Regions from separate parts of the Homo sapiens genome. Here region 1 is linked to region 2. The links are contacts of gene promoters, found by promoter capture Hi-C in blood cells and fetal thymus (Javierre and others, 2016). All regions are on one chromosome and are shown on one strand. The core of a region is centred on a gene start or on the middle of the fragment in contact, and the rest is flanking DNA. Distances in the headings are between cores, read along the strand shown.

Region 1 (2,991 bases), core at 96-2,595, 1.6 Mb after region 2:
TTTACCTAAAAAACCTTAACTTCTCATCACTTTGCCCTATAGAAACACTAATCTTAAATAAAAACATTCTTTTCCAAGCACGCTACCTCTCCCCACTCCACTAGTAACTTTTAATTTGCCACGTCTCTCTCCACAATAGATTCAATAGCCTTGCTCCTCTACCATCAGGTGTTACTGTCCTGTTCTCAAATCTACATATGCCTCTCAATTCTGCCTCATAAGCAGAAAGCAAATACTTCAGACTTTGTATCAAGAAGCAACAATTGAAAATACTATATAAGTACTCACATGAAAAACGAGAATCAAATTTCCACAATTTTTTAAAAATTTTGAAACAGAAATAATAACAGTAAAAGTTTTTGTAATACAGGTCTATTAATAAGAATAGAATGCTTTTTCAAGAGAAATTATTTCACTTAATTGGGGTATAAAGTTAATATTCTATAATTGCTAATGTTTGCAAATGTTCCTCTGTTACAAACTATTCTTAGCCCCAAAACCACACAAAAACAGGCTGCTATCTGATTCCCAGGCTATAGTCTGCTGATCCGTCGTCTATCAACCTCTTGAAAACATATTACTTTTTAACAGATTAAGAATCTTTTTTTGCTGTCTCTTCCTCTGCTGTCATTCAACACAAATATAATGCCATACTGATGACTCTTTAAAAGCTTGAGCCCTAAAATTCCTTTATTCCTCAAATTATGACAATTTTCATCATGTATCTCATCTCCAAGAATTCCAACTTAAAACTGATAACCCCTCATCTCCAAGAATTCCAACTTAAAACTGATAACCCCTTCCACCATTACCATTAAAATCTTCATCATCTCAGACTTTCTGCCCTTTCTAATTTTTGTAATACCCTTTTTGATGTCACTTTCTGCCTTAGTTTGGATATCATTTTTAGCTATTTCAAAGATTTTCTCTTCAGTTCTATCATTGATTCTTTCAAACTAATTTCTCCAACTATATACAATTCAGTGTCAATCACTAACTCTGGAAAAAAAGTCACCTATTCTCTAGGTTCTGGCTAAGGATGACTACAAAATGTTTCAAAATTAGGGAATAATGTTATTCGATCACATCTGTGCTTCTCTAAATGGCATTTACATACAAGCCTACCCCTAAATATGTCTATACTACTCCCATAGCCTTCTACCGCTCCTCGCCCTGAGAATGACCCCATTATTAGCTCTAAGGTATGATTTCCAATCTCAGTTGGGCCCTCCACACTTAACCAATCCTTGTACTTTCCTTTGATCAGTTTCTTAGTAACCATTTCCAGTCCTTACCTTACTCCTCAAAACCCTCACTGCCCCCCCCTCCCATCCCATACCAATACAGAATGGGCTAGTCTTCCAAAATAAAAAACATTTAGAGCCAAGGGTGGTGGCTCATGTCTGTAATCCCAGCACTTTGCGAGGCCAAGGTGGCAGATCACTTGAGTTCAGGAGTTTGAGACCAGCCTGGGTAACATGGTGAAACCCCATCTCTACAAAAAATACAAAAAAAATCAGCCGGACATGGTGGCGCACACCTGTAGTCCCAGCTACTTCTGGGGCTGAGGTGGGAGAATTGCTTGAGCCCAGAAAGTCAGGGCTGTAATGAGCTAAGATTGTGCCACTGCACTCCAGCTTAGGTGACAAAGCGAGACCCTGTCTCAAAACACAAAACATTAAGGAGTACTCACTCTGTCCCAGAAGAGCGTAGTGTTTTATATGCATTATCTCATGTAATTTTTCTAACCCGATGAGATTGGTGGTAGTATTAACATTTTATTCATGAGAAAAGGTTAAGAGGGTAAAAGAATCTGCTCTGACTGCACAGAGGTATTAAATGACCGAGTCATGAAAGGTCCAATTCAGAGCCCAGGGTCCTAAATATTTCACTATCTGGCCTTCTGCTTCACATGAAAATAAAGAAGAGTGAGAAACAAGTATGTATTCATTCAATCATTTATTAAACAATCATAAAAAGCCTTTATGCCAGACTCATATTATGTGCTGAGAGCACAAGGAAGCTTCTGCTCTCATGAAGCTTATATTCTCCAATGTACTACAAATATATGAAACTGTTTTTCTCTTGGTGCAATGTAATAGTCTCCCCTTATCCATGAGCTAAATGTTCCAAGACCCCCCAGCGGCTGCTGCCTGAAACTGCAGATAGCCCCAATCCTATATTTACTGTTTTTTTCCTATACATGCATACCTATGATAAAGTTTAATTTATAAACTGGGAACAAGAGATGAACAATAACAAAATAGAACAATTAAGTTAGCATATACAGTGTGGATACATTGGACAAAAGGATGATTCATGTCCCAGTTTTAAGCAAGAGAGCGAGACAGATTTCATCCTACTACCCAGAAGGGCGAACAATTTAAAACTTACGAATTGCTAATTTCTGGAATTTTCCATTTAATATTTTTGGACCATGAGTAACTGGAACTGCAGAAATTGAAACTGCTAAGGGGGTGTGGGGGGGGGGGGCTGCTGTATCCTCACATAGCAGGATCACTGACTCTATTCTAACCATTTTGCCTTCAAGACTCAAAGCCTCACCTCCTCAAAGTCCTCTTTGCTCACTGAAGATAACAAAATCTCAATTTTGATAGCACTCTACCAGTACCTACCTCTTCGACATTTATTTTTACCTTATATCAAAAACATTCAACTCTAAAGGATAGGTAAGTTGTTTAGTGGTGAGATGTCTGGGTTTTATCTTGGATTTCTCAGTTATATGGCCCTATACAATTAACCCTTGGACGACAAGGGTTTGAACCACACAGGTCCACGTATACACAACTTTTTTTCAATAAAAGTTACACCAAGTGTGCCTGCCTTTCCTGACTTCCCATCCACTTCCTCTACTTCTTCCACCTCTGCTACCCCTGAAACAGCAAGACCAACCCCTCCTTTTACTCCTCCTCCTCAGCCTACTCAATATGAAGACAATGAAGACCTTCATGATGATGTACTTCCACTTAC
Region 2 (3,154 bases), core at 510-3,009:
ATCTAATCAGGTAAAATCTCAAGCATTAATTGGATATGCTTATAACAAACCGGTAAATTTTTAGAAGATGTAAAACATATCTTAGAAAAATAATTTAAATTATTAATGAGAATTAGACTAAGTCATTGAAATTTGATTTTTAAAACTTACCGAGCCTCTCTTTCATTGAACTCAGAAGTAGTGTGAATGGTAAGTCTTCCTTGTCAAATGGAATGCTACTTAGCAGCTGTCTTAGCTCGTTCCAGATGCTATAATAAAGCACCATAGACTGACTGACTGGTTTATAAACACACATTTATTTCTCACAGTTCTGGAGGCTAGAAGTCCAAGATCAGGGTGCCAGCATAGTTGGTTTCTGGTGAGGACCTTCTTCTGGTTTGCAAACTGATGTATTTTTGTATCCTCCTGTGGCAGAAAGATGGAGACAGCTCTCTGGGTCCCTTTTTTATAAGGGCACTAATCGCATTCATGCGGCCTCTATGCTATGAATTACCTCCCAAAGGCCCCATCTCCTAATACCATCACATTGGGGTTAGGATTTTAACAAATGAATTTAAGGGAAAGCACAAACATTCCGTCCACTGCAACATCTACAAAATAGGTCCTTAGGAAGTGCAGAAGTCTGGAACAGTTCTTTCCCAAGCCACAACCCTGAAAACATGGATTGCTGGGTATGCAGATTCTCCTGGGTCCCTTTCCCATAAACACCGAATTAGACACTCTGAGGATGCAGCCCAGACATTCTGTATTTTTCACCAGGCATAATGGTGATGGCTGATATTAGAATGGTGAAATTTATCCCACCTAGTAAGAATCTAAACTGAAAATGGTGATGATGCAAAAAAGATCTGTCAACCAGTTAAAAAAAAAAAAAAAAAAAGAGGGTGTGTGTTTGTCAGGAGGGATAGTCTTTAGTAGTATGGCCAAAAGCTTAAGCCTGATTTTCAGGGCTCTATTGTTGGAGTGGGTAGTTCATCAACTTCCTAAGTAATTCAAATCTTTTTCCCCCCAATATATTAATATATTGGTGATTCCAAGAAAGAGGGTTTAATTTATTTAATGCCTGGGAAAACTAAAAGAACTACAAACAGATGTGAAAGGAAGAGAATAACCACATCTCACAGGAAGCAAAATTTCTGTCAAAAGTTACTGTTCTTTCCCTGTCTAGGTTCTTTGTCCCTGAAAGGTAGATCCGCAAACTAAATCCCTCAATAACGTTGCCTAAACAGGACTGGGATCATAGAATGTCCAACACTAACATGAGTTCATAATGGCACAACGAACTTAAAATGTTACTATTCATGTTTTAATTATGATTGCAGTCTTACGTTGAAGGTATCTCCGCCGTCCTTAAACATAAAAAAAAAAAAAGGAAATACAAGCTGCAAAAGTTTTATGTAATGCACTCCACCCTCTTTTTTCCCCAAGCCAACACACACCCTTCAAACTTTTTGACAGTTATTTTCAGACCCCTCCTAGGCTCCCGAACTCCATGCAACTCCAGCAGTCTCCCCTGGGCCATTTTTAGCCTCTGCTCTGACCTGGCGGGAGGCTGGGTGTCCACCCTTTCCCCTGCAGTCCTGAAAGTCCGGTCCGAGCGCGGACGGGGCGGGGAGGGGCTGGGCGGGCCAGGCCAGCTCCATTGGCGCCAGGCGGGTGGGGGAATGCGCTGAGAGGACCCGTCCAGCTTGCTTAAAAGCCATCAGTTTTCTGACCCCGCATCGGTTCCAGGAAGAATACACCTATGTGACAAGCTAAGTTCTGCCTCATTTTGCATTTAGAAGCCACAAGAAAAACTTTTCGAAAACTTTTGTCCGTCTTTTGCTCCCCCGACGCGTGGTTTCCTGATGGTCCGTCCCCGGGCAGAGAGAGGGACGCCCCCTCCTCCTCCCCGCCTCTTGTGAGGCGCGCGGAGCCGCCTCCCCTGGGTCAGGTCTGATGGGCCGGTGGGCGCGCTAGTGGTGGCCGCCACCGCCGAAACCGTCGACCTCCTGGGCCCCAGTTCCGCGTCCAGCCCCGCGGCAGCATGGACTACCTGACGACGTTCACCGAGAAGAGTGGGCGCCTTCTGCGGGGCACGGCCAACCGCCTGTTGGGGTTCGGGGGCGGCGGCGAAGCCCGGCAGGTGCGCTTCGAAGATTACCTGAGGGAGCCAGCCCAGGGGGACCTCGGGTGCGGGTCCCCGCCCCACCGGCCCCCGGCGCCGTCCAGCCCGGAGGGACCTGGTGAGCCCACCTTTCTTTCGCCTCCCGCGCGGCCGACCTGGGCTGAGGGCTGTGGGGAGGCGGCGGTCGTGGCGCCGGGCGGGGGTCGCTGCCCGGCTCTGGCAGGTGTGCCTGGGCCGGGGCGGGCAACGTGGCCGGGGTGGCGGCCGCCGGGGGCGAGGAAGGAAGGACTCGTTCGGCTCTGGGGAGGGAAGACTTTCAGCTGCGTGCCAGCTCTTCCTGCTCTGCTCTTCCTGCTTTCCTCACCTAGACTTGATTTTCTTTCCCCGCCAAGTATTTCAAGGGGACGATCCATTCTCTCTTTCCCTCCCACTGGGAGGTGAAGACTGAACCAGTTATGACGTCCGTGTTTTCAGTCTTGGATTCTTGAAGAGCGCTGTGCCTGCTTTGGTTTTGGTTTGGGTCAGTCTTTCCTTAATATTTCTCAGTTGTTAGGATTCACTTCCTAACCGAAAAATAAAAAGCCAGATACTTCTTTGTAAAATAAAACACTTCATTAACATTGGAAGCTAGTTGACATTTTGCGTCGTGTACTTTTTGAACGGCTGCACGTTGTCTTGTGGTGGCAGAACCTAGAAACTTTCTCAGTTCCTGTTTATTTTGTGTTGTGTTGGCCGATTTTTTTCACCACAGTGGCTTTGTACCATTCTTTAAAACAGTCATTTGTAGCGACATGATATTGATAACTTAAAGAATTTTTGAAAGTGCTGCTGAACAGTTTTAGCATAATGCATAGGGTAACTTCCAGTGTCCTTGGCTTCGTTTAACAGGTAGCAGACATCCTAGCCATGTCTGATTTTTATTTTTGTTAATTGCTTTAATATTTGAGGGTTATGAAAATAAATGAGCATTAGAGAGTTTAGAAAATAGAGATAGGCACAAAGTGTGTAAAATCTGTTTATAACTCCACATCGTGCCAGTCATTTTAT

What was found. The method cuts DNA at HindIII sites, captures the fragments that hold promoters and counts their contacts. A CHiCAGO score of 5 or more calls a contact.
Region 1: a contact is called between a fragment that was not itself captured here and the fragment with the promoter of OXR1-AS1 in region 2, in 7 of 17 cell types (total CD8 T cells, total CD4 T cells, non-activated CD4 T cells and 4 more). The highest score is 15.4, in total CD8 T cells.

What each region holds. Positions count from the first base shown.
Region 1 is chr8:108,243,804-108,246,794 of GRCh38, forward strand. All of the region lies in intron 1 of EIF3E (eukaryotic translation initiation factor 3 subunit E), which reads right to left. Among named protein-coding and RNA genes, the nearest start is that of EIF3E, 3.4 kb to the right of the region's middle. The HindIII fragment of the contact is 1,352 bases long and covers 670-2,021 here.
Region 2 is chr8:106,655,961-106,659,114 of GRCh38, forward strand. OXR1-AS1 (OXR1 antisense RNA 1) reads right to left here and starts at 1,760. Exons shown (of 3, transcript XR_007061059.1): 1 at 151-1,760. All of the region lies in intron 3 of OXR1 (oxidation resistance 1), which reads left to right. RefSeq lists an enhancer at 1,651-1,860 and silencers at 1,931-2,180, 2,221-2,370. The HindIII fragment of the contact is 2,439 bases long and covers 929-3,154 here.